Regions from separate parts of the Homo sapiens genome. Here all the other regions are linked to region 5. The links are contacts of gene promoters, found by promoter capture Hi-C in blood cells and fetal thymus (Javierre and others, 2016). All regions are on one chromosome and are shown on one strand. The core of a region is centred on a gene start or on the middle of the fragment in contact, and the rest is flanking DNA. Distances in the headings are between cores, read along the strand shown.

Evidence for each region. The method cuts DNA at HindIII sites, captures the fragments that hold promoters and counts their contacts. A CHiCAGO score of 5 or more calls a contact.
Region 1: a fragment that was not itself captured here is called in contact with the fragment with the promoter of NEDD4L in region 5 in 2 of 17 cell types (endothelial precursors and M1 macrophages); the score reaches 7.7 in endothelial precursors.
Region 2: a contact is called between a fragment that was not itself captured here and the fragment with the promoter of NEDD4L in region 5, in 1 of 17 cell types (erythroblasts). The highest score is 5.1, in erythroblasts.
Region 3: a fragment that was not itself captured here is called in contact with the fragment with the promoter of NEDD4L in region 5 in 2 of 17 cell types (erythroblasts and megakaryocytes); the score reaches 7.4 in erythroblasts.
Region 4: a fragment that was not itself captured here is called in contact with the fragment with the promoter of NEDD4L in region 5 in 4 of 17 cell types (megakaryocytes, erythroblasts, M2 macrophages and 1 more); the score reaches 17.3 in megakaryocytes.
Region 6: a fragment that was not itself captured here is called in contact with the fragment with the promoter of NEDD4L in region 5 in 1 of 17 cell types (endothelial precursors); the score reaches 5.2 in endothelial precursors.

What each region holds. Positions count from the first base shown.
Region 1 is chr18:58,323,573-58,328,455 of GRCh38, reverse strand. NEDD4L (NEDD4 like E3 ubiquitin protein ligase) reads right to left here. Exons shown (of 31, transcript NM_001144967.3): 9 at 3,294-3,460. Among named protein-coding and RNA genes, the nearest start is that of MIR122HG, 120 kb to the left of the region's middle. The HindIII fragment of the contact is 2,791 bases long and covers 2,237-4,883 here.
Region 2 is chr18:57,575,291-57,579,529 of GRCh38, reverse strand. All of the region lies in intron 2 of FECH (ferrochelatase), which reads left to right. Among named protein-coding and RNA genes, the nearest start is that of FECH, 9.3 kb to the left of the region's middle. The HindIII fragment of the contact is 226 bases long and covers 2,465-2,690 here.
Region 3 is chr18:57,668,892-57,673,459 of GRCh38, reverse strand. It overlaps ATP8B1 (ATPase phospholipid transporting 8B1), which reads left to right. Exons shown (of 28, transcript NM_001374385.1): 17 at 1,880-1,992; 18 at 3,978-4,142. ATP8B1-AS1 (ATP8B1 antisense RNA 1) reads right to left here. Exons shown (of 3, transcript NR_164148.1): 3 at 4,177-4,568. Among named protein-coding and RNA genes, the nearest start is that of ATP8B1-AS1, 41 kb to the right of the region's middle. The HindIII fragment of the contact is 251 bases long and covers 3,187-3,437 here.
Region 4 is chr18:57,641,980-57,646,467 of GRCh38, reverse strand. It overlaps ATP8B1-AS1 (ATP8B1 antisense RNA 1), which reads right to left. Exons shown (of 3, transcript NR_164148.1): 2 at 4,416-4,488. ATP8B1 (ATPase phospholipid transporting 8B1) reads left to right here. Exons shown (of 28, transcript NM_001374385.1): 28 at 1-42. Among named protein-coding and RNA genes, the nearest start is that of ATP8B1-AS1, 14 kb to the right of the region's middle. RefSeq lists enhancers at 1,950-2,460, 2,461-2,972. The HindIII fragment of the contact is 4,262 bases long and covers 1-3,585 here.
Region 5 is chr18:58,041,687-58,046,419 of GRCh38, reverse strand. It overlaps NEDD4L (NEDD4 like E3 ubiquitin protein ligase), which reads right to left and starts at 2,194. Exons shown (of 31, transcript NM_001144967.3): 1 at 1,712-2,194. The coding sequence starts at 1,759. RefSeq lists silencers at 1,560-2,109, 2,130-2,499 and a cis regulatory region at 4,389-4,733. The HindIII fragment of the contact is 1,832 bases long and covers 1,067-2,898 here.
Region 6 is chr18:58,498,095-58,502,686 of GRCh38, reverse strand. ALPK2 (alpha kinase 2) reads left to right here. Exons shown (of 13, transcript NM_052947.4): 12 at 4,590-4,592. Among named protein-coding and RNA genes, the nearest start is that of MIR3591, 49 kb to the right of the region's middle. The HindIII fragment of the contact is 5,513 bases long and covers 1-4,592 here.

The DNA of each region.
Region 1 (4,883 bases), core at 2,383-4,882, 280 kb before region 5:
ACAGAATCTCAAAATCGTGACACTGCATTTACCTCCTTTACCCTACTTTAAAAATCCTAATAACATCAGGAGATAACCTCTCAAGTCAGCCGGGGTCTGAAGAACACCAAAACATCATACCCTATTTTTTGTCATGTGATGTTCTCAATTCAGGATCTAAAAGTTTTGATTCAATTTGGAAGACTTTTTTGGGCTGGGCATGGTGGCTCATGCCTGTAATCCCAGCACTTTGGGAGGCCAAGGCGGGCGGATCACTTGAGGTCAGGAGCTCAAGACGTACCTGGCCAACATGGCAAAACCCCGCCTCTACTAAAAACACAAAAATTAGCCGAGTGTGGTGATGCGTGCCTGTAGTCCCAGCTACTCAGGAGGCTGAGGCAGGAGAATCACTTGAGCCCAGGAGGCAGAGGTTGCAGTGAGCTGAGAGATCATGTCACTGTACTCTAGCCAGGGCAGCAGAGTGAGACTCCATCTCAAAACAAAACAAAACAAAAAAAAAAAGAAAAAAGAAAACTTTTTTTTTTGCAGTAAATTATAGGCAATCATACTTTGGGGGAAATACTAGTCAGAGGCTTTTAGTGTACAAGTTTAAATGCCAAAAATTTTTTCAGGGAAAACTCTCACAGATACTTTCAATAAGATAACATATCCCATTAACAAAAATTATGTCACAAGTCAGTATCTCAAAAGTTGAAATCGTCATTTCAGACTAACTGAAATATAGTACTTATCAAGAACACTCATTATAGACTCTTTCTAAAACACAAATTTTAAAGTTTTCTCACACATTCTGAAATGAACTTATACTGTATCCCAATAAAGGGCCTGCTAGCAGAGGTTGTGGTGGAAACTCTTTTTCCTTAACTAACTTTCCTCTTGCCTTCTAGAAGTTATGCCCATTGGAAGGAGGCGCTCCTCAGGTTCTGCCAAGTTCTGCTGTGTCCTTCCTGGCTCAGCCTCTCCCTTTGGCATTGCTGCCTCCTTGATGGGGCAGTTATGCCTCTGCCTTCTCCCAAAACTACATGTGAGCCCGAACTTGGATTAAGAACTGCATTTTTCAGCCGGGCGTGGTGGGTCATACCTGTAATCCTAGCACTTTGGGAGGCTGAGGTGGGCGGATCACCTGAGGTCAGGAGTTTGAAACCAGCTTGACCAAGCCAGTGAAACCCCATCTTCACAAAAATACAAACATTAGCTGGGCATGGCGGCGGGCGCCTGTAATCCCAGCTACTCAGGAGGCCAAGGCAGGAGAATCGCTTGAACCTGGGAGGCGGAGGTTGCAGTGAGCCGAGATGGTGCCACTGTGGGTGACAGAGTGAGACTCTGTCTCAAACAACAACAGAAAAAGAACTGCATTTTTCCCTTGTTGCTCTAGACTAGTGAAGAGCCAGCAAGTTATACCTTTTGTTTTAGTTTCTGGGACACTGCCACCAAAGATGGTTTCTCTTTTAAATCACTTTATTGAGGTCTAATCAACACATTAAAAAGCTGTTCATGTTTAACGTACACCTCTTGATGAGTGTGGGGACATGTCTACACCTGTGGAGCCATCAAAAAAATAGTATATATTTTAAAATGTATGAAGTGTTTTCTCAAGAATTCCCTCGTTAGTTTCACAACTCTGTGAGGCAGAGAAAGTAGCAATTATCCCTATTTGTCCCCAAAATACAAACTCTAATCTGCATGATCCTTATTTATGAAGTTGAATATTTTTCCATATACATATTAGCTATCAGGATTTTTTCCTTTGTGAGTTGCTCCTGGCCACTTTTCTGCAGAGGTCGCATGAGGATCTACCTTTTCAGTACTCCTTTCTCATGCTGTTGAGCAAAGGTAGGTAATGGTGCTTTGCTTAGGATATTGCTACCAAGATTCTTCTAGTCACTACATGTAACCAAGCCCAAGGTGGGTCCAAATTCATTTTTACTACAAATAGCTACAATGGATTACAATAATTCTAATAGCTATGGGCATTAATCAAAAGGAAATAGTAAGCAATAATATAAAAAACAAAAAGAATCAACCAAGCTATTTCCATGGGAAAAAACTTTAACAAAAGATAGTTCAGCATTACCCAGCTGATCTGATATTTTTGCTGTCCTGAGACCATTTTGCTGTCCTGAGCTAATGCCCGTGCTGGGTAGTCTAAAGCTGATCACGAACAGCTGACATTCACGAGAACCCACCTGGGGGCTCAGAGAAGACAGGCTATTCGTTGTTCCAGATTCTGCAAGCTTTATCTCTAAATTAAACAAAACCTAGACCAGAAAACTTGGCCACCCTCCCCACCCACAGTCATATGTGGAGTATCTTTACAATTTCTAAAGATAAAAGGTTTTTAAGAACATGATACCTCATACTGCTTGTTGTCTAAAATGTATCATTAGCCACTTTCTTTCAGAGTTCGAGTAGACAAGAAAATTATACTACCCAGTAGACTTGCTTTTATTACATACTGAAAGTTGTATAGTTCATTGATAATTTCCTCCTTGTCTTGGCTGCTAGGCAGCTCATAATTTCTAGGATAAAATTCCTTTTCCTTAAGACTTTCTTTTTGCCCTTCGATGTATTATCAATAGACTTAGATCTTGCTGTATAAAATGATTTAAAAACAAGCTGCTACAAAACCATTTTTAAAGTCCATGAGTTTTAACCAGTGTTTATTTGCTATCAATCAAACCACAAATTGCTGAGGGAACAAAACAGGAATTGGTTTACTGCATCCCTGAGGCTGGTGAGGGATTAAAATACACAGTAATTACTAATTCTGATTTTGCAACTCTCCCATGTGTTTCTGATTATATTAAGGGGCTCAAATTTCCTTAAAGAAAAAAAAATTTTTGAGGTTTCCAAATCAATGCATTGAAGAGAGTAAACATCCAAAAACTTAGAGAAAACAGAAAATTGCAAAGCCAATTTGCTTGCCGGTTCTGTTCTGGGTCAGTTGGGAGAGAAAGGTGAAGAAGAAAACAATATAATCAACAAATGTAAAATAAGTCTAAGAAAAACAACCTCTGCTTTGTATTTCAGGAATCGACATAAAAGAAGACATAGAAAATAAATCAGCTCATATTGAAAACAGCAGCATGTGACTCAAAGGCAATCGCTTACAATATACAAGTTCTGACTGCTCTTGCATGCTTTACGTAAATGGAGAGGAATCTCGTACCACACCACCATCTGCTCTTATAGACATATGATTTATTTCCCAGCCTTGTCCCAAAGGGCCGCCATATTTGTCCCTAGCTGTGCAGTGCACGTGCACGTGTTCCTGACCATCACACGGTACTCACATCAGGCTTGGTCTGTGCCACTGAGTGGTCCGGTTGTTGTGGTTGACATAGTAAGTTCGGCCTAAATTGTCCACTTTTTCTTCCCACCCGGGAGGCAGAGGAGGAGGAGGAAGTTCCTCTTGGTGCTGAGAAGCCGAGTCATTTGAGTCAACAACTTCCCATCCATGCTGCGGAATAAAGTTAAAGGGACGATTATGAGGTTGGTTCTTCGGCTGTGAGTAAGAGGTCATCACAGCATGCCCTGCATGCCCTTCTCCTTGCTCTGGGGCTCTCTGGCTCTAGCCATGGCTTCGGGGCCACATTTGAGTAAATTCCCAAATGAAGGCCAAAAAAATATATATATATCAATTCTAGAAAGGCCTCAAAAATCTTCTGAGTAATGGCCAATTAATTGTGCTGCCCTCTAAGATGACTACATTGCAGGACAACACAATTTGGATCTGCACAGTCGGTGACACTACTTAAGTCACATCATACTCTTTCCATACGTCATGTTTGTTATTTTGACTGGAGGGCCTCCAAGGCTGTACAAAGCCCTGCCAATGATGTGCGTCACAGTACAGCTGCCATCTTTTCAACACCTCTATGAGGTAAAGGGAGCAGGGAAGATGAGCTGCGCTGCACCTGTGTTCTAACAGAACTCATGGCACAGGGGACCAGAGGCCCAGAGTCCTGTTGCTCCCCAGGGAGGTGGGCTTTGAGAGAGAAGCCTCCTCTTTGCATCCCAAACAACCGCAGGAGCCAGGAGTCTGGAAGCTGCTGCCTTCTACTCAGGCCCTCTACACTGGCTGTGTCCACACCAACGGGTTTCATGGTACCAAAATTCGAGTTCCATTTTTACAGCACGTATTTTAGGCATTACGTATTCCCTTCCTAACATCCTCTGCTAAAATCACTGGAAAATTAAGTAATTCACTGGTTACTGCGGTTGGAAGGCAAGAAGAGTGTAAAAAATTCCTTGGATTTGAGATGAAAATCTGTTGACATGCTTATGAAATGTTAACATTCATAAATTTCTATCACCCACATTATTCCTCTTCATGTATATAGAGAGATGAAGGCTTGTAAATGAAATAATGCCTGGAAATATGATCTCTCAGGCGGAGGAGTGTTCGGGTAACTTCTCCACACACATTATTCACATATCACATATATGCAACAGCTGCAAACAGATGTGAGAATAAGCCCTAGAGAGGTCTCGTTTAATGGACACTTTGAGAATATGAGAATTTGCCTAACAAAACAGCACTGGCCGAGGTGTGTGCTGAAAAGGTACGATAGGACCCACAGCATCAGTCTGTGACAAGGTAAATACAGGCGGCTCTGTCAGGAAGGAAAAAAGGGACATTCCTCTGGTCAGCTCGTTGCAGAATGGCATTTCTAGAGGAGGGTTTTTCTACTGCAGGCTGTCACCTGTGGCCAAATGAGTAAGAAACTTGAAAAAAAAGTGATTTTCTAAATTCCTCCACCCACTTTGAAGCGACCTCAATGGCTAAAAAGAATTTACAAAGAGTTGCAAGTCCATAGCAATAATAGGATTCAATGTGTGAGGAGACTTTCACAGAGCTGTGGGGCTAAAATTGGGGAATA
Region 2 (4,239 bases), core at 1,328-3,827, 470 kb after region 5:
CTCTTTAGTAACAGGAGTCACAACCGCTCCCAAGTCTTCCTCTGTACAGAGGCAACAGAAGACTCTATAAAGGGAAGTTATCGAGATGAGTACATAGAAACAGCACCCTTTAACATCAGGCAGAGTGAGAGAAAGTAGCTGGGACCTATTTAACTCCATGACCTTTCTGCTAGATCACACATTGTTTGATGAAAATTATACAGGTATGAATATATACACACACACACACACACACACACATATATACACACACACATATATATATATATCTTTTTTTTTTTTTTGAGAGAGTCTCACTCTGTCTCTCAGGCTGGAGTGTGGTGGCACAATCTCAGCTCACTGCAGCCTCCACCTCCCGGGTTCAAGCAATTCTCATGTCTCAGCCTCCCGAGTAGCTGGGATTACAGGCACATACCACCACGCCTGGCTAATTTTTGTATTTTTAGTAGAGACGGGAATTCACTATGTTAGCCAGGCTGGTCTCAAACTCCTGACTTCAAGTGATCCGCCCGCCTTGGCCTTCCAAAGTGCTGGGATTACAGGCATGAGCCTGTAATTTTATTTTTTTTTTGAGAGGGAGTCTTGCTCTTTCACCCAGGCTGGAGTGCAGTGACTTGATCTTGGCTCACTGCAACCTACACCTCCCAAGTTCAAGCCATTCTCCTGCCTCAGCCTCCCAAGTAACTGGGATTACAGGTGCATGCCACCACACCCAGCTGATTTTGCATTTTTAGTAGAGATGGGGTTTCACCATGTTGGCCAGGCTGGTCTCGAACTCCTGACTTCAAGTGATCCACCCACCTTGGCCTCCCAAAGTGCTGAGATTACAGGCGTGAGCCACCGTTTTTATTTTGAGGAGTGTAGCTCTGTCACCCAGGCTGGAGTGCGGTGGTGTGATCATGGCTCACTGCATCCTTGAACTCCTGGGCTTAAGTGATCCTCCTGTCTCAGCCTCCCAAGTAGCTAGGACTACAGGTGCACACCACCACACCCAGCTAATTAAAACAAATTTTTTTTCTTGTAAAGATGGGGGTCTCATTTTGCTGCCGAGGCTGGTTTTGAACTCTTGGCTTCCAGCAGTTCTGCCATGGCTTCCCAAAGTGCTGGTATTACAGGCATGAGCCATGAGCCACGAGCCACCGTGCCTGGCCAGAACCAAAATTTTCTTATTGTGTGTTTATTGTTTTTTGCTATATGATCATGGGTATGATGACTGAGTGCTGTGTAACCTGAGGTTAGTTGGGGATGGGCATTAGATACCTTCTTCATCTGGCAGCCTGCCAAGCAGGGCCCATTCCATTTCTCCTTGCCCCTCCCAGCCCCTCTCCCCACCTCAGCCATATGCACTGAGGGTTGGGATTTGATAGAAACTGAAGAACTGATTCAGTTTGGAATCCTAGAAGAAAAATTATTTCATTTGTGTGTTTTTCTAGCAGCAACTCATTAATATAAGTAGGCTTAATATTATTAAAATTAAATGAAAGTCTTTAAATTCTACTAAGTAACTTTAGATCATATTTATATAAAATAAATGGGATCATTTTAGAGAATACGGATAGGCAACAAAAAAAACCTTAAAACATTATGAATAATCTTACCACCCAATATTTTGTCTCTCTCTGTCTTCTTAAAAAAAAAATAGAGACGAGGTCTTACTGTGTTGCTCAGGCTTGTCTTGAACTCTTGGGGTCAAGCAGTCCTCCTGCCTCAACCTCCCAGAGTGCTGGGATTACAGGTGTGAGCGACCAGCCAGGCCAATTTTGTCTGTATGACTATTAAATATTCACTCTGTATGTATTTAGCAAGATGTGACCGTACTGTACATCATATATTTATAATGCCCTCTTTTTATTTACTTTATCATCATAAATACTTGTCTATATTATTTTAGTAACTGAAGAGTATTTTATTAAGTCATAAACTACCTTGACCAACATTCTGGGACACGTAGGTGATTTCTAGTTTTTTAATATTAGAAATGGTGAAGCAGTGAGTGTCTTTGTGGATTCTTCTGATGGCAGTCATTATGAAGGCATTGTGCTGCTTAATGCTTGGGCTGGACTAGACTGCAATACTAGAGTAGACACTACACTAGGCCAGGGGTTGACATTAGTTCTGTAAAGGGTTAGGTAGTAAATTTTTCAGGCTTTGTAGGCCAAACTCTGTCTTTTGCTGCTATTCAACTCCGCTGTTGTAGTGTGAGAGCAGCCATAGATATTACATAAACAATGAGGGGAGCTGTGTTCCAGTAAAACTTTATTTACAAAAACAGGCAGTAGGGGTGTATGTGTGTATACAGATTTAGTGCATGGGCTATAGTTCACCAAATTCTGTTCTAGAGGCATCATAGACCCACAGGCCAATCATGTCTTAGAGGTTTAATGAAGAGCTGGGATCGTATTACTTTTTCTTGAGGCTGACCATATAGAGTAGAATAGAATTATTGTTTATTAATTGACAAGCTTAAGTTTCTGTTACGTACATTTAATATTTCACGGAAAAACCTTGTATTTTGAGAGTCCTGGGATATAAAAATGGCAAAATGTTGAAACCTTTCCAAGTGAGAAGTTTTAAATATATTTTGCTGTATACACTTTTATATTCAAACAAACGGAACATGAACGTTCAGACCTTGGTCTCAGGTGTGTTCTGTCTGGAGGGAGAGGAGATGGAGACCCTTGACTAAAGCTTTCACTTCACATTCTGGAATAGAGGGGTGTCAGACTGGGGCTTACTAATGCGCTATTCATCATGCACAACACAGTTTTGAATTAAGTGCATGTGTATTTAGGTATTTTCAAGTCGTGTGCATCTCTTTCATGTGTAAGATCAACATGCGTTTGCAAAACCATGAGCAGGGCAGAGTAGCATCCCCTTTAAAGCCACTCTTGTTCTGAGCTCAGGTGTTATAGATGAAAAACAGCTCTAAATCCCGTTTGCACACTGATACCGTCTGTGGCTTAGGTAAGTCTTTTAGCCTGAGGTTTTTTTAACCAGTAATCTGTTAACTGGCAGCAATCCATGGGAAAATGCACTTAATTTATTGTGAGTCACAGATTTTGAAGGTGAAAGACAGGATCCCAGGAGAAGACTAGTGGTCTAAGTAGAAAGATTAAACGAATATTAGTTTCACAAAATAATGCATCTGGAATTTTCAAATATCAAGGAAAGAAAACTCAACACACCCGTTAATGCAGTTGTAGGACTCGAGCATGGAAGAGTTATATAACAACCACATCTTCAGTGCAGTTGCTTGGTTGTTTTAGAAGGGGATTAAGCCCTCTTTCTCTAAGACAGTGATTCTCAATAGGGGGAAGGGGGCATTTTTGCCTCCTGGGACAAATTTGGCAATGGCTGGAGACATTTTTGGTTGTCACACTGGGGTGGGGTGTGTGCTATTATTGTGTACAGGTAGAGGCCAGGTATGCTGCCAAGGCTCCTGCATTGCACAGGGCCGTCCTCTACAACAAAGGACTCTCCAGCCCCAAACGTCAGTAGTGCTGAGGTTGAAAAACCCCGGTTGAAGGCATTGATGTGAAAAGGGACCTTAGTTAATCTTTATAATGGGGTCTAAATGAGAAAATCCCTGATCTCATTGTAATGCCATATTTCTCCTTCCCCAGGAATTGATTCGTATTCTGAAAAAGTAGGTTGAGAATTCAGATTTTTACCTCATCCACTTATACAACAGGTTTGATCAAGAAAACAGTTTCTACCTGTTTACATTTGACATACCCTGCTGCCTTACGTTATTGCCAAATGTTGTTAATAATTGTTTAAAAATTGCCCATTAAGATGTCACCATAAGCCTGGGGCAATGGCTCACACCTGTAATCTCAGCACTTTGGGAGCCTGAGCCAGGAGTTTGAGACCAGTCGGGGCCACATGGCGAGACTCTGTCTATATAAAAAATTTTAAAAGTAGCCAGGCATGGAGGCATGTGCCTGTGGTCCCAGCTACTCAGGAGGCCGAAGCGGGAGGATCACTTGAGCCCGGGAGGTCGAGGATGCAGTGAGCTTTGTTTGTGCAACTGCACTCCAGCCTGGGTGACAGAGTGAGACCCTGTCTCAAAAAAAAACAAAAACAAAAAAGATGTCATCATAGTATCTTTAGTTTTCGAGCACATAAAGAATGTTTCTCTATACAGGCTCTGTCTCAGCAGCATTGGTTTAGTCACTGCAGTGGTCAGAGGTAGTCTGGTGTAGGAGATTCAGGAAGTAGACCCCTCAGCGTTCATAA
Region 3 (4,568 bases), core at 2,063-4,562, 370 kb after region 5:
ATACCATAGTAGGTATTTCCTAAGAACAGAAGCACTCACTTATATATACAGTGCAATGTTCAGAACCAGAAAATTTAACACAGTACAATATTATCTAATCAATAGACTTTATCAGATTTTACCAGGGAGGTTCATTCTTTGTTTTTCTGGTCCAGGATCCAATCTAAGATCACAGGTTATATTAGGTGATCATGACTCTGAGTCAAGGACGGTTCAATCTCTTTTTGATCTTTCATCCATTGATATTTTTAAAAAGCACAGGCTGGTTATTTTATAGGCTATCCCTCCATTTGCGTTTGTCTGATGTTCCCTCATGATTAGAGCTAGGTTACACATTGTTGGCAGGAAGAGTCCGTAAGTGATGCTGTGCTTTTCTTTAAGTATCACATCAGAAGGTGTATACACACACACACATTTATATTTATATATATATACATATATTTATATATGTATATTTATATATACATGTATTTATATATGTGTGTATATATGTAGATATATGTATGTATATATGTGTATATACATGTTATATATATATATATATATATATATATATATATATATATATATATACTTTTTTTTTTTTTTTTTTTGAGACAGAGTTTCACTCTTGCTGCCCAGGCTGAAGTGCAATGGTGCTATCTCGGCTCACTGCAACCTCTACCTCCCTGGTTCAAGTGATTCTCCTGCCTCAGCCTTCTGAGTAGCTGGGATTACAGGCATGTGCCACCATGCCTGGTTAATTTTGTATTTTTAGTAGAAACAAGGTTTCTCCATGTTGGTCAGGCTGGTCTCCAACTGCCGACCTCAGGTGACTGGCCCGCCTTGGCCTCCCAGAGTGCTGGGATTACAGGCGTGAGCCACCCTGCCTAGCCAGAAGGTATATATTATTGGTTTGTCTCATTAATGGGGATGTTAACTTTGATCACTTGGTTAAGGTGGTATCTACAAGCCTTCTCCACTATGATTGAATTTTTAACCAATAAAAATATACAGGTTTAACTATTACACCCTCCTTAGGCACACTTACTGAACGCTTTCTGTGTCCCTTACACAGATCTAGACTGATTATCATGCTTGCCATCTACCTTGATTTAAAATCTGGTTAACAGTGAGGGATGTATTACAATTATTGCATTAATCAAAAAACCCAAAAAAAATGGTCATTAGGAGTGGTGTTGTGGTCGAAGTATTAAAAGCAGTAAGTGTTGTGAGTTCATAGGTGAGAAACTACCTGTTGGTTGGATGGAGAAAAAGTCTACAAAAGAAAGTAACTAGAACATGGCATAGCACATGGTAGGGAGTCAGTAAATATTTGTTGGAAGAATAACTGAGGTTATAAAAAACAGAGCTGACTGTGAAGGAATCTTTTTATATTTATTTCACTATTACATTCAATGTAGATAATGACTTACCAGTTTTGTTGAAGGCAACACTTTTCTAGAGGAACTGATGGTTTTAAGCTAACAGTGAATTATGAGATAGTAACATTTCAAATTAACTTTATAAATGTAGTTTTCTATTAAAAAATCAAACTTAGCTGGGTGTGGTAACTCACATCTGTAATCCCAGCATTTTGGGAGGCTGAGGCAGGAGGATTGCTTGAGCCCAGGAGTTCAAGACCAGCCTGGGTAACATAGTGAGACCTCCAATGTCTATAAAAATAAAAATTAGCCAGGCATGGTGGCATGCACCTGTAGTCCCAGCTACTCGGGAGGCTGAGATGGGAGGATTGCTTGAGCCTGGGGGGTCGAGGCTACAGTGAGCCGATACTGAACTGCTGCACTCCAGCCTGGACAACAGAGCAAGACCCTGTCTCAAAAAATATATATATAAAAAATCAAACTTTGTTGTGTTTATTTCCTTCTTTTACTACCAGTAAGAACCCCAGAAGGCAATATCAAGCTTTACTGTAAAGGTGCTGACACTGTTATTTATGAACGGTTACATCGAATGAATCCTACTAAGCAAGAAACACAGGATGCCCTGGATGTAAGTTTCACTTTTATTCTTTCTGCAAGGGATTCTGAACTTACTCTCTGATGCTGTCTGTTAAGTTTGCATGAAAGCTGTATGTTAACTGCTGACCCTCCCTTTGCTTTGCAATAGTTGGGGTGGAAAGAGCAGTAAAGTAGGAATACAGCCACCTGGGTCCCAGTTCTGCCCCTGCCACTGACTTCCTGGGATATCACCATGGTGCCCTCTCCCAGCATGTGGGTCTTCAAGGTCTATAGGACTGAGGCAGGGGAATGGCTTAGCTCTCTTCCAGTGGCCTTGAGCAAGCTACATAACCATACTAGGTTGTAGTCTTACTATGTGTGTGGTCCCCAAGACCTCCACTAACTTCAAGTTGTAGTGCAAAGGAAGGAAAGCATTCATATGTGACAGGATGACAGAGCTGACTATAGGTCACATCTTGTCTAGCCAAGATGGCAGAAGCGGTTCAACTGATTGAGTATTTGGTGTCTCATGCCTGTAGTCCCAGCACTTTGGGAGGCCAAGGCGGGTGTATCACCTGAGGTCAGGAGTTCAAGACCAGCCTGGCCAACGTGGTGAAACCCCGTCTCCACTAAAAATACAAAAAAATTAACTGGGTGTGGTGGTGGGCACCTGTAATCCCAGCTACTTGGGAAGCTGAGGCAGGAGAATCGCTTGAACCCCAGAGGGAGGGGGTAGAGTGAGCCGAGATCGTACCATTGCACTCCAGCCTGGGCGACAAGAGCAAAACTTGGTCAAAATAAAAAAGATGTGACTATAAAGTAATGAGATGTTTACTGGTTCATGTTGAAACTGTTTAAAATGTTTAAATCAGGCTGGGTGCAGTAGCTCACGCCTGTAATCCCAGTACTTTGGGAGGGTGAGGTGGCAGATCACGAGGTTAACAGATCGAGACCATCCTGGCCAACATGGTGAAACCCCGTCTCTACCAAAAATACAAAGATTAGCCAGATGCAGTGGCACCCGCCTGTAATCCCAGCTACTCAGGAGGCTGAGGCAGGAGAATGGCGTGAACCAGGGAGGCAGAGGTTGCAGTGAACCGAGATCGCACCACTGCACTCAAGCCTGGGCGATAGAGTGAGACTTCATCTCAAAAAAAAAAAAAAGAAAAAGAAAAAGAAAAAAAAAGAAAATGTTTGAATCGTTCATCATGGGAAAATTGCCAGATACTCTTTTCCATTAAAAGCTTTGACCTCAGCTTTAACAATGGCTTGTGTATTTTAGAATTGGTTTGAGGGAATAATGCTTAGTGGAGAGTTCATAGGTGATTGGACTTGTATCACAGTTTGTTGGAACAAGTTATAAAGTTGTCAGGTTCGTGCTTATGTCATTACACCCCAAGGCAGCTCCCTTGGTCTGATATTTTCCTAGTCATGAAGAGAAAAAGAGAAAATGAGAAAATGAGAAAGGTAATAGAAGATTTAGAAGAAAGGTAAGCTTTTCCCTTTGGAAACTGGAAGTGCAGTCCTGGACCCTATAGAAGTTTAGAAAAGCAAAGTCTATTATAAAGTGATGTTTAGGCTGGGTGCAGTGGCTCATGCCTGTAATCCCAGCACGCTGGGAGGCTGAGTTGGGCAGATCACATGAGCTCGTGAGTTCAAGACCAGCATGATGAAACCCCATCTCTACAAAAAAAAGTACAAAAATTACCAGGCGTGGTGGTGCACACCTGTAGTCCCAGCTACTTGGGAGGCTGAGGTGAGAGGATGGCTTCAGCCTGGAAGGCAGAGGTTGCAGTGAGCCGGGATTGCATCACTGCATCCCAGCCTGGATGATAAAGCCAGACCTTGTCTCAAAAAAAAAAAAAGTGACATTTAATCCCCTCTCTAAAGTGTATTTGTACAGAATCTGTCATGTTTAATGATCTCTTTTTAAATTCTGTTAGTATATTACTTCAAAGTAAAATTTCAGACTTGATCCTGAATTACATAAATTAACTATTCTTTGCATTGGTGGATTTATTTTTTTAAATAAAACAGATCTTTGCAAATGAAACTCTTAGAACCCTATGCCTTTGCTACAAGGAAATTGAAGAAAAAGAATTTACAGAATGGAATAAAAAGTTTATGGCTGCCAGTGTGGCCTCCACCAACCGGGACGAAGCTCTGGATAAAGTATATGAGGAGATTGAAAAAGACTTAATTGTGAGTTTTAGCCTTAATAACTTTTTCTTTGATATTCTAAGCAGAATTGAAATTTTTATTAAGTTTTATTGAATATTTGATCTCATGCTTAAGAGATAATTGTAACTTCAGCATTTGACACTGGCACAATGGAAGAAGGTTATTTCTTTTATTCACCAAAATAGGAGCAGAACAGAAGTTGCCATTATGAGAAACCAAAAGACAAAATACATTAGGAGAAGTTCTAATTTAATTCCATAATTTGTATATCACTTATTAAAATTTATTATAATTTTTAAACAATAACAAACCTGCATCTAATACTTATTACATTGGGGGAATTACCGAAACAATTCATATTCTGCAAAATCTTGAAATAAGAAAAATATATTGTTTCTAAAAGTTTTCCAAATTTAATACATAGTTTTTGTAGGGTTTAGATAAGTG
Region 4 (4,488 bases), core at 205-2,704, 400 kb after region 5:
TAGTAAAATCTTTGAAAAGTATGATCTTCTAAAGTATTTAAATTGGCTTTTGTTGTTGTTGTTATTTTTAAGAATAGGGTATGTGACAGAAGAATCTAGTCCCACAAGGTTTCTAGAGGAATGTAGGGGTCCTTTAGTAGTGAGAAAGTCGGGGACAGGGAAACTAAGTGTTAGGGAAGAAGTGATGGAGAAAGGGAAACTAAGTGTTAGGGAAAAGGTGATGGAGAAAAGGTGATCAGGACCGGGCACTGTGGCTCACGCCTGTAATCCCAGTACTTTGGAAGGCTGAGGCAGGAGAATCACTTGAGGCCAGGAGTTTGAGACCAGCCTGGGCAACATAGCAAGACTCTGTCTTTTCAAAAAAAAACATCTCAGTGTAGTGGCATGTGCCTGTAGTCCCTGCTGCTTGGGAGGCTTAGGTGGGAGGATCACTTGAGCCCAGGAGTTTGAGGCTGCAGTGAGCTACGATTATGCCACTGTACTGAAGCCTGGGTGAGAGCAAGACTCTGTCTCTAAAAGAATTAAAAAGGTGGCCAGACTTTAGAGACAGAGGGGTAAAGATTTAGAGTTAGGGAGATCAGCCAGGCATGGTGGCTCATGCCTATAATCCCAGCACTTTAGGAGGCTGAGGTGGGCGGGTCACTTGAGGCCAGGAGTTTGAGACCAGTCTGGCCAACATGGCGAAACCCCGTCTCTACTAAAAATACAAAAATTAGCCGGGTGAGGTGGTGCACACCTGTAATCCCAGCTACTCTGGCAGCTGAGGCAGGAGAATTGCTGGAACCCAGGAAGCAGAGGTTGCAGTGAGCCATGATTGTGCTACTGTTCTCCAGCCTGGGCAATGGAGTGAGACTCTCTCCAAAAAAAAAAAAAAAAAAAAGGAAGATTGAGTCTGGGTTTTTCCAACTGACCTCAACTCTTTAGCCAGAATGAAAGGAAAGGTAACCCTCAACCAAAAGTAAGGACTGGGGCTGGGCACGGTGGCTTGTACCTGTAATCCCAGCACTTTGGGAGGCCAAGGTGGTGGGTCACCTGAGGTTAGGAGTTCGAGACCAGCATGGCCAACATGGTGAAACCCCATCTCTACTAAGAATAAAAAAAAGCAGCCAGGCATGGTGGTGCACACCTGTAATCCTAGCTACTTGGGAAGCTGAGGCAGGAGAATCACTTGAACCTGGGAGGTGGAGGTTGCAGCGGGCTGAGATTGTGACACTGCACTCCAGCCTGGGTGACAGCGAGACTCCGTCTCAAAAAACAAAACAAAAAAAGTAAGGGGTGAGAAGTGAGCAGATAGTCCTAGAAATACATGACGAATCGTTGGCAGAAAAATGAGCAAAGAGGAGTGAGTGAGGAAGTGAGTGGCAAACCTGGGGTTTGAGGCTGTGGGAGTCTGACGAGGCTGTGGGAGTCTGACCAGGCTGTGGGACAGACAGCTCTTGGACGCAAGGGAAGCTGTGACCCCACTAAGAAGGTTCTCTCTGCGTCGAGATGGGAGACTCTTTGGGAGGCAAAATTAGCAGCAGGTGATAGAAAAGTATCAGTCTTGGGGTGCTTGGGCTGGGAGGAGATGGGCAAATTATTAGCCTCTGCAATAGAAATGGCAGAAAAATTGAGCAGACCTGGGAGATCATCCCTAAAAAAATAAAGGTCACTTTTTCCTGCAATATACTACTGTATTTAAGTTGTTTGAGGGATAAATGTTTTTAATCAAAGAGCACCACCTAAAGGTTCTTAGTCATGTTCAGCACTAGAAACTGCTCAGTAACAACATCTGATGGGAATAAAATGATTCTTGAGAGACTTCAATGTGATAGCAAAATGTACCCTAATGGAATCTAAATATATTTTAACAATTGCTGCCTTCATGTGATGTGAATGAAACTTAGGAAAATTGTCAGCTTCTAAAAGTCCTGCTAGAAAGTTAGGGCTGCGCTACAACTTCTGGGGCATTTATAAAAATAAAAAGGCCTGTTAAAACACTGAAAACAACACAACGTAGATCTCAGGACAAAGTGGAGGTTGGGGCCCTTAAAAATAACCACTGTAATGCAATCATTTTCTTTCTGCTAAAAAATACAGTAAAGGCTGGGTGCAGTGGCTCATACCTGTAATCCCAGCACTTTGGGAGGCCCAGGCGGGCAGATCACCTGAGGCCGGGAGTTCAAGACCAGCCTGACCAACATGGAGAAATCCGTCTCTACTAAAAATAAAAATTAGCGGAGTGTGGTGGCGCACGTCTGTAATTCCAGCTACTGGGGAGGCTGAGGCAGGAGAATCGCTTGAACCCGGTGAGAGGTGACAGCGTGCTGGCAGCCCTCACAGCCCTCGATCGCTCTCGGCGCCTCCTCGGCCTTGGCGCCTACTCTGGCGGTGCTTGAGGAGCCCTTCAGCCCACCGCTGCACTGTGGGAGCCCCTTTCTGGGCTGGCCAAGGCCGGAGCCGGCTCCCTCAGCTTGCGGGAAGGTGTGGAGGGAGAGGCGTGGTCGGGAACCCGGGCTGCACGCGGTGCTTGCGGGCCAGCGTGAGTTCTGGGTAGGCGTGGGTGTCCGCGGGCCCCACGCTCCAGCAGCCAGTGGGCCCCGCCAGCCCGGGCAGTGAGGGGCTTAGCACCTGGGCCAGCAGCTGCTATGCTTGACTTCTCCCTGGGCCTTAGCTGCCTCCCCGCGGGGCAGGGCTCGGGACCTGCAGCCTGCCATGCCTGAGCCTCCCCCACACGGTGGGCTCCTGCGAGGCCCAAGCCTCCCTGACCAGCACCACCCCCTGCTCCACAGCGCCCAGTCCCATCGACCACCCAAGGGCTGAGGAGTGCAGGTGCAGGGTGCGGGACTGGCAGGCAGCTCCACCTGCGGCCCTGGTGCAGGATCCACTGGGTGAAGCCAGCTGGGCTCCTGAGTCTAGTGGGGACTTGGAGAACCTTTATGTCTAGCTAAGGGATTGTAAATACACCAATCAGCGCTCTGTATCTAGCTCAAGGTTTGTAAACACACCAATCAGCACCCTGTGTCTAGCTCAGGGTTTGTGAATGCACCAATCCACACTCTATCTGGCTACTCTGGTGGGGACTTGGAGAACCTTTATGTCTAGCTAACGGATTGTAAATACACCAATCGGCACCCTGTATCTAGCTTAAGGTTTGTAAACACACCAATCAGCACCCTGTGTCTAGCTCAGGGTTTGTGAATGCACCAATCGACACTCTATATCTAGCTACTCTGGTGGGGACTTGGAGAACCTTTGTGTAGACGCTCTGTATCTAGCTAATCTAGTGGGGATGTGGAGAACTTTTGTGTCTAGCTCAGGGATTGTAAACGCACCAATCAGCACCCTGTCAAAACAGACCAATCAGCTCTCTGTAAAATGGACCAATCAGCTCTCTGTAAAATGGACCAATCAGCAGGATGTGGGTGGGGCCAGATAAGAGAATAAAAGCAGGCTGCCCGAGCCAGCGGAGGCAATCCACTGGGGTCCCCTTCCACACTGTGGGAGCTTTGTTCTTTCATCTTTGCAATAAATCTTGTCACTGCTCACTCTTTGGGTCCACACTGCCTCTATGAGCTGTAACACTCACCGTGAAGGTCTGAAGCTTCACTCCTGAAGCTAGCGAGACCACAAACCCACCAGAAGGAACGAACAACTCCAGACGCGCCACGTTAACGGCTGTAACACTCACCGTGAAGGTCTGAAGCTTCACTCCTGAAGCTAGCGAGACCACGAACCCACCAGAAGGAACGAACAACTCCACACGCGCCACCTTCACGGCTGTAACACTCACCGTGAAGGTCTGAAGCTTCACTCCTGAAGCTAGCGAGACCACGAACCCACCGGAAGGAACGAACAACTGCAGACGCGCCACCTTAACGGCTGTAACACTCACCGTGAAGGTCTGAAGCTTCACTCCTGAAGCTAGCGAGACCACGAACCCACCGGAAGGAACGAACAACTCCACACGCGCCACCTTAACGGCTGTAACACTCACCGTGAAGGTCTGAAGCTTCACTCCTGAAGCTAGCGAGACCACGAACCCACCGGAAGGAACGAACAACTCCACACGCGCCACCTTAACGGCTGTAACACTCACCGTGAAGGTCTGAAGCTTCACTCCTGAAGCTAGCGAGACCACGAACCCACCGGAAGGAACGAACAACTCCACACGCGCCACCTTAACGGCTGTAACACTCACCGTGAAGGTCTGAAGCTTCACTCCTGAAGCTAGCGAGACCACGAACCCACCGGAAGGAACGAACAACTCCAGACGCGCCACCTTAACAGCTGTAACACTCACCACGAAGGTCTGCAGCTTCACTCCTGAAGCCAGCGAGACCATGAACCCACCAGAAGGAAGAAACTCCGAACGCATCTGAACATCAGAAGGAACAAACTCCGGACACGCCGCCTTTAAGAACTGTAACACTCACCGTGAGGGTGCGCAGCTTCATTCTTGAAGTCAGTGAGACCAAGAACCCACCAATTCCGGACGCACTGGGAGGC
Region 5 (4,733 bases), core at 945-3,444:
TCACCCCCACCCCCCACAATACGTCAACCCAAGCAGCCCCTTTGTTTAGGAATGTCTGCGTCTCTGCAACTCAGGGCCTGCCCTCTACTGCCACTAATTAAATGGAGAAGTAGAGGATGCAAGGGAAAGCTCCTCAAAGAGAGAAGCCAGGAGGGAGAGGAGAAGCCCCCCGGGTCAATGAAACAATGCTACTGTCACCTATCCCCAGGTAGTTACACAAAACGGGAAATTATTTTACAAAAGCACAGCGAGGCAAAATAAACACACAAATCACACATTATTTGCACTGTGATCATTCTTTGATCAAATAAATACATCAAGCTTTGCCTAGCACCGCTAAGAAAAAAATTCATACCCTAAACACCCTTCCCACCCCAAAATACCTTTCATTCCACACTTACGTAGCACACAGGCACACACACACACCATGCCAGGGTAGGAGAGCCGCAGAAAGCGGAGCCATAACGCGAGCCTGTCTCAGATAATAGCCTTTCTTCCAACCCCACCCCCAACACGAGAGAAAGAGGGAACCTCTGAAAAGAAAGGAGGGAGGGGAAGAAAGAGAAATCGAGAACGCCTGAATTTCCAGGCATCAACTTTTCATGAAATGCACAACCAGGATAGGAAATACCTCCCTGCTGAGTAATGCTTCTTGGGTTGTAAAATTCACCTCTCGAAAGGGGAGCCAGACCTGAGCGCGCACCCCGCCAGATGGCAAACCACTCCTACCTGCTCCATCCAGCCTGCCTGTCACGCCGCGCCCGCGACAAGCGTCCCACCCCCCTTTTTGGCAGAGCAACATACCAATAAGAGCCGAGCGTGGCTGGTCGAGAGAGGACTAGGCAGTGATTTAGCAGGATTGTTTCAAAAGGGGGGAGTGGGAGACACGGAAGAGAGAATGAAGGTAAAAACAAAGCCCTTTCCAGTGAAACCGACCGCCTGGGAGGCGTGGCTTATTCAGTCGCTTTATTAATAAAAGAGATCAATTAAGCTTTCCTCTCCCCACCCACCCTGGAGGTGCCGGGCTTTGAATCCTCGGGAGGAAAAAATGGCAGGGCTGCAAGCTTCCTCCCCAAGTTTCCAGGAGCACCTGCCACCAGCCTTGAACACCTCCCCCACCGAGGCTCCGAAATCCACAATCCTGGCCGTAGACTTTGCAAAACGAGGGGAGGGACACACGCAGCGTGTCCCCCATTCCCGCCGGGATAAGCACGCACAGGCTTCTGAGCGCCTGCTGATCCACACAATCATGAGAGAGAAAGTTCCAGGGGGAAACGATCCGGCTTCTCCGCAGTCCCGGGTCTCCAGCCGCGCGACCCAGACGTGACATGCATCATGGACTCCCGGGCTGCAGGGGCGAGAGGCGGAAAGTTGCCCAACAGCCCCGGGAGACGCTGCTTGGAGAGGAAGAGGGAAGAGAGGCACGCATGCCCCCTCCCTCTCCTCCCGAAAGCGAGGAGCTGCGGAGTGAACCCCCAGCTCCAAGGGCGTCGCGCCGCTTTATTTACAAACAATGAGCTCGGCTTGCGGAGGGTGGGGGGTGCGGAAGGACCCAAGCTCCCCTGGATCCCGCTCCGGGGCGCTCCCGCTTTGGGGCTCCCCTGCAGACGCTGGGCACGAGCACCCCGGGGACGGCCCCTTTCCCCTCCCCCTGCCGGCGCGGGATAGGAACTCCCCGGGGAGTCCCGAGCAGGAAGGGGGTGCCACTCACCTCGTCTTCGGAAAGTCCATAGACCGGCTCCCCGAGCCCGGTCGCCATGGAGCCGGCGCCCCGCGCGGGGTCTGAGGCGCTCCCAGCGGCTGTGCTGCGGCGCGGACGGCCGGTTCTCCCCTCTGCCTCCAGGTCCCCCCGGTCCCGCACCCTACCCTGCGCACGCCCTGCCGGGTAAGCGGCCGGGCGCCGGCAGGTGAGGGTGCCCGAGAGCGCGCCCTGGACGCTGCCGGCACCGCTTCCTCCCGGAAGGCTGCGGGACCAGCGGGCGGGCGGCTCCCGAGAGCGCGCCGAGCACCGGGCGGCAGCCCCGGCGCCTCTCACTGCGCGCGGCGGCGGCGCAGACCCGGCCGGGCTTTCCCTCCCCGCGACCCGCGCCTCCCTCCCGCCCCGCCGCTCTCCGCCCCCCTCCGAGCCTCCTCTGCGCTCCCGGGGACCCGGCTCGCCCGCCTCCTCGCTAGCGCCGTCCGGGCCCCCGCTCTCTCCGCCCCCTCCTCCGCCTCCTCCCACCGGCGCCGCGAGGGTACCCTCCCCGTTCGCCGGGGCGGGCACACGCGCCCCCCAAGCCAATCACAGGCCGGGCTGGCGAGCGGGCCGCGGGCTGCGGGGGTGGCGGAGTTCAGCCCCACGCCCACCCCGGCCCGGGGCCTCCAGCGCGGCGCGGCGGGGGTCACCCGGCCGCGGGGCGGATCCGCAGGGGCGTGTACTGGCGCGCTTGGCCGGCGCCGCCGACCCTCCCTCCTCTCCCGGTTTCCCTCCGCTTTAGGGAGGGGGCGGGCTGGACGTTTGGGGGCGATAGAGGATTTTGCGAACAATAACAAAAACGCCCTGAGCGTTTCTTCCTCCCGGTGGTCTTTTTACCGAGAGCCCTGAGCTCGCTGTTAACTGTGAAAAGGGGAAAAGATGGATGTTTCTAGACCCCTTTAAATTCTTTGCGGCCCCGACGAGCAGGACTTGGCTACATTGTCAGCTCCCGGGAGCGAGCCGCCCGGCCCGGCTGCCAGCCGAGGAGAGGCTGCCCCAGTGTGGCCGCAAGTCGCCATTGCCTGTGTCAACCTTGCAGGGAACAAAACCAACATAGCGCCCGCCCCGGTTACACACCCACCCACGCGAAAACAGACAGCATGGTTCTTTGAATAAAAAGCAGTTCATTTGTGAGCCGCAACGTGAAATATCAAACTCAAGCTTAAGGTTATCCTTTGCATATGCAAATGATCGAGACGTCTTATTAGCCACCGTAGGATTCTTCCCACCACCCAGCTACCGTTTCTCTAGCAAGCAGTTCATTTAATCCTTCCGATTTATAGGACTGCAAGAGACTACTTTAAATAAGTGAAAGAAATTCGTCAGTCGACTTTTTCGGAAGCCTTTCCTTAAATTTAGATGTTAAGTGCAGTTGGGAGTTCAAAAAGAAAACAGACGCAGAACATTCCATTTGCCTTTGAAAAGGAAACGTCAAAGTGCCTACTTGGGTATTACCAGGATGCATTTAGGATTTTCATTCAAGGAAGTTCAGAGAGAACTCGCGTGACCCGAAGGAATCATATTCCTCGTTGCCAGCTACATAACTAAATATCTGCTGTTCGCCCTGCTAGTTCGTTTTCAAAAGAGCCCACCCATGCTACCTTAAGCTCTCCTTTGCCTTCCTGCAGCATGACTGGCTTAAAACCTGTGCCGTAGAATGGGTTTCCTTTGACGACTTAGCCCCATGGAGTCAACATCCTACTCAGAAGCCTTCTCTAGAAGTCTTGAGCCGTCAAGTCCACAGTACTTACAGGCCACAAAACCCCCAATGAGAACTATTTATGGAGGACTATTTAAAAGTCAGATTTCTGTCCATTCTTTCAATACTGAGGTTTTTCAACCCTTTCAAACCTCGAGTCTTTAGACCGGGCACGGTGGCTCAAACCTGTAATCCCAGCACTTTGGGAGGCTGAGGCGGGCGGATCATAAGATCGGTAGTTCAAGACCAGCTGGCCAATGTGGTGAAACTCCATCTCTACTAAAAATACAAAAATTACCCAGGCGTGGTGGCGGGCGCCTGTAATCCCAGCTACTCGGGGAGGCTGAGGCATGAGGATCCCTTGAACCTGGGAGGCGGAGGTTGCAGTGAGCCGAGACTGCGCCACTGCACTCCAGCCTGGACCACAGAGCGAGACTCCGTCTCAAAAAAAACAAAAACAAAAAAAAACAACCCTAAAGTCTTTTGATAAACAAAAGGTACACGTGCACACTCTGTCTTTCTCTCTCTCTCTCTCACACACACACACACACACACACACGCATTCTCAGATGCCCTTGCCCTAGCCTGTGACCCTCATGGATGGGAGTCAGTGCTTCTCTACCTACCCTCACTAGCCAAACCTTTGTAAAATTTGTACAGTTTATATTATAAAGGAAGAAAAGTAATTGAATAATAATGCTAGCATTTTGGGAGGCAGAGGCAGGAGGATCATTTGAGGCCAGGAGTTCGAGACCAGCCTGGGCAATATAGAGAGACCCCTGTCCCTACAAAAAAAAAAAAAAATTAAAAATTTGCCAGGTGTGGTGGCATGGGCCCATAGTCCTAGCTACTCAGGAGGCTAAGACTAGAGGTTCACTTGAGCCCAGAAGTTCAAGGTTACAGTGAGCTATGATCGTGCCATTGCACTCCAGCCTGGATGACAGAGAAAGACCCTGTGTCTCTAAATAAATAAATACATAAATAAATAATTCTTAAAATGTGCTGATAGAAAATTATAATTTCTAATTACACAGGACACGCCTTCCACATCCTGGAGGTACACAATTCCAGGCTTCGCCTTTGGGTAAGGCTATGTTATCTGGAAACTGTAGAGGGGTGTGGCAGTTTCTCTTCCTGTCTTTTATCATCTACTCCCACACACCCACCGCAACAGCCTATAGCCCTGCACTCAGGGTCATGTCCTTGTCTTTCCCTGAGGGATGGTTATTAGGAACTATAATATGAAACTTGCCATATGTCACTTATTGTGGGGTGTTTATAAAATCGTGATCCATGACA
Region 6 (4,592 bases), core at 986-3,485, 460 kb before region 5:
TTCTGCTGCAAGGGGTTTCCTATTTCTGTTTGCTGTTAAGAAAATCTGAACTATATTATTTTCTGCCTACCAAATGTCAGATATTGTCCCAGATGAGGATCTCAAGCTCTAGCTATTACATGGTGTTGAAGAGCAAGACCACCTTGGGGTTCTGTTCCCTGCACTGCCACTTCCAGCCTGGTAGCCTGTGGGCAAATTACCTTTCTCAGTGCTTCAGTAACTTCCACACAGAGTTGTTTTGAGAATTAAATGAGATAGTAAAGCGCTTATTGCAGCATTGCCACATAATAAATGGTTCCTATTTCTTTTAACCCATTTTTTTTTATTTGTTTGAGACAGGGTGTCACTCTGTCACCCAGGCTGGAGTGCAGTGGCGCAAACACAGCTCACTGCAGCCTCAACCTCCTGGACTCAAGTGACCCTCCTGCCTCATCCTGCCATGTAGCTGGGACTACGGGAGTATGCCATCACACTTGGCTAATTTTTTCTTTCCTTTTTTTTTTCTTTGTGTGTGTGTGTGTGTGTGTGTGTGTGTGTGTGTGTGTGTGTGTGGAGATGGGGTTTCACTTTGTTGCTCAGGCTGGTCTTGAACTCCTGGACTCAGGTGATCTTCCTGCCTTGGCCTCCCAAAGTGCTGGGATTAGAGGTATGAGCCACTGTGCCCCAGCCTTTATTCTGAAATAATTATAGACTCACAAGGATTTGTAAAAATATATGGAGTGATTCCCACGTATGCTTCACCAGCTTCACCTAATGGTGACATCTCACATAACTATAGTACATTATCAAAACCAAGAGATTGACATTGGCAGAATATAATCAACTACACTAGAAACTTGACTTGGATTTCATCAGTTTTTGTATCCATTCATTTTTTTCTATTATTTTTACTTAATCTTCATAATAACCCTGCAGAGAAGATAGATATTATGATCCCCATTTTACAGAAGAGAAAACTGAGGCCTGGAGACCGTGATTGTCTCTGTCTGCTGTCACTCAGCTAGTAAGTAGAGGGGTCCAAGACTCCAACCCGCATTTTCTGACTCTGAATTCCAAGTTCTTTCCACAAATAACAATTTAGCAAATTTGCAAGATATTTACTTCCAGACCTTTCCAAGTCTCTCCTGATGTTAGAGGGCTCTGGTATGTGTACGGTTCTTCCTCCTAAGCCCTTGGAAGGACTCCTTGCAAGCCAGCTGGGAAATGCAACATTACCGCCTTGCAGATGAAGCCAATCTGCAAATTTAAGTCAGACTTCACTCTTTGAAGAGACTTTGCTGCCACACACACACAAAACATATGGTCTTAACAGACAGCTGTTTGTTCTATTTAGACTCTGGCTGTGCAATTGCTGCTGTCCCCCATCTTTTCTCCTTGCGAATTAATTTTGTATTAAATTCAGCTCTCATGCTGAAAAGCAGCACCCAGGGCTTCATGCACAGTTAGTTTCACTTCCAGGTACTAGTAAACAACAGTAATGGAATATCACATCTCTCTGTAAATGACGTGTGTGGTTTAACGTGGTGGTGTGGCATTAAGTAATGGTGTTTATTTACTCTCTGTTGATGGACAAAAAATATTTTTACTGTCATTGTCATTGTGGCATGAGATAGCGCATCTATTCTCTAAGGAAACTCCACTTTTTATAATTTTACAGAGACACTGGAATTAGAATTAAACTCAAATTCTATCACCACCCTTTTGGACTTTTAAAAGTTAATTCTTCCTGGCTGCATTTGCTCATTTAGAAGATTATGCCAGGTCCTGCAGGTTTGTGGGGTAAAAGATGAGCCTGTGATTTGGACCTGAGACCTGCATGCTGGTGAGACTACCACGCCTTCTAACAAGCTGTCACCCAAAAAACTCAAGACCTTGAATTCTGGAGAATGAGCTTTTTTTTTTTTTTTAATTTTTTTGTATTTTTTAGTAGAGACGGGGTTTCACCATGTTGGCCAGGCTGGTCTGAACTCCTGACCTCAAGCGATCCACCTGCCTGGGCCTCCCAAAGTGCCGGGATTACAGGCATGAGCCACTGTGCCCAGCCAAGTGGAGAATGAACTTCTAATGCTGTTCATTTCCTTTCTTCTGTTAGAAACAACCTGTAGATTACTGTTATCTCCAACTCAGCTTGATAGCTGCACACTAGGATTTAACTTTAGACTCTAGAGATTCCTAGTAACCTTGACATAATTGCTGGCAAATCATTAAACTGACAGGGGGAAGTTTTCTTTTAAAAATTATATTCTGTCTTTCTAAACTGTAAGTGACAGCTGGTAATTGTGGGAAACAAGGGAAAGCAATTCTCCAAGTTCAAGGACCTTTTGCCAAATGACTTTTTCAAATTGGACTTCCATACGGCTTAGAGCTGTAATTTTAAAATACAATTTTCCATGAAACAAGATGTCCAGAGACAGCGTTTGCAATTTGGTGGGTTTTTTTTTTTTTTTTCAAAGCATAGTCCCTGCAATAAAAGCTATGTGAAGCATTTCTACATATGTTTGAGTTATTAGCGGCTTTGAAAGAATGAGATGAATTAGTTACCAACTGCGAAAGAGACTTTTAAAATGGTCACTGGTTCTCCCAAAGTGCCATGTCTAATTTAGCTCACAGGTGCACTGCAGAAAAGCAGGCCTCATGGCTTCTGTCTGCCTAACCAGCCTGAATCCCAACACGTCCTTTGTTTTTGCCATGCTCCCAGCAGATAACGCTGAATCCGAGCATTAATCCTTTAGCTGTCTTTTCCTGGGCCTCAGAAACAGCACTCCACTTGGGTGGGGAACCACGGAAGTAGGTGGCCAGCAGATCTGATCCTCATGGCTGGCTTTAGGGGGATGCTGAGTTTTTTTCTTTCCACAGCCCAAACTGGTTTCTAGGCTGCCAGGGCCCTCCATGGGCAAGTCACGTGCTGGAGGTGGGGAATGCCAGTGCTCACAGCCCGGCCCATGGAGCCCAAGAGGCAGGGGCAAGAGCACAGGAGGCAGGACCCAGGCATCTAGCAGGTGCAGACACACTGGTGGGGTGGCACTATGGGCCATGGGATAAAATGTCATCACTAGATTGCACGGGTAAGGTCCTGGCAGAGGTCCACTGCGTTGGAGCAAGTGCCCATAACCCTCACCCTAAGGAGACAGGAATGGAATTGGTGCGTGGTCAGGGCATGCAGATTCTGGAAAGGTCAAGAGGGAATCCACACTCTGGGCATCAGGGAAGTGCTTTACTTTCCACTAGACCTGAGAGAGGTTCAGGATGCAGGCTGAGACTGGGGGTAGAGTGAGAGAGGGTGGCTCTTTCCACTACAGAAGGGGATGGCAGCTCTTATCCTCCCTCACAGTGGAAAACAGTGGGATAGTCTATTCCCTTTGCCTCCCTGGCTCCCTAGCTACCCTCCCTACCCCTCCTGCTGGAAAGGCACATGCAAAAAAGGGTTCCATATGCTTGCAATGGGTGCCTATTGCTTTTTGCTGAACCAGAGTGGGAAGCTCAGGTAGCTGTTCTACTGTTTTGGTTTTGATATCCCCCACCTATCCCCACCATGGTTTAGTGGGTAGCAGTTAGGATGAGTCCAAGGACCACGTGTTCCAAATGTCTGCTTCGCCAGGCCATTGGTTCAGTGTCTACATAGAACTCAGGATTGTTTCCCGGGGTCTAACACTGACCACCCAGAAAACCTTCAGTCCTGAATTGAAAAACGATCTTTATGGAAATGAGAAATCATATGTCTGAAGTTTGGCTTTGAACTAAACACATGCCCCTTGAGCCCTGTGTTAGTCCATTTTCACACTGCCGATAAAGACATACCCAAGACTGGGTAATTTACAAAGAAAAAGAGGCTAATGGACTCATAGTCCCATGTGGCTGGGGAGGCCTCACAATCATGGTGGAAGGCGGAAGGCACGTCTTACATGGCAGCAGGCCACAGACAGAATGAGAGCCAAGGGAAAAGGAGAAGCCCCTTATGAAATCATCAAATCTCCTGAGACTTATTCACTACCATGAGAACAGTATGGGGGAAACTGCCCCCATGATTCAATTATCTCCCACTGGGTCCCTCTCACCACACATGGGAATTATGGGAGCTACATTCAAGATGAGATTTGGGTGGGGACATGGCCAAACCATATCAAACCCTCTTGCTATTGGCATTGACTATCCCAGGCCGTGCCTACTTTTCTTTCCATCATGTAAGGGTTTCCACTTTCATTGAAGAACGGGGAGCCAGACCTAAGCCAAAGTCACCGTATTTCTGGGGAGATTGCTTACGGGACAAGCATCAGGCCTCAGATTTTCTCACAGAGTGGCCAGCTCCCTCCTTGTCATGGGGTGGGTGGGCCAGGCAGGCAGAGGACTTCATTTCCAGAGCCGAGAGGGCTTGGGTTGTCTGCTCACATGAGACTTGATTCCCCCTAACTGCCACCTTCCCCATGGTCCCTGCCTAAAGCTGGATGCGTATATGAAAGAGGCCTCGAGTGTTTATGCAGGAAGGAGAAGGAGGATGAGCTGTCATTACCCCTTCCCTGGGGCTAGATGGCCCAACTTCCTGAGGGGCCCTGAGTAACACAAACTCCCATCTTTGCTTTCTCTTCCTGTAGGTG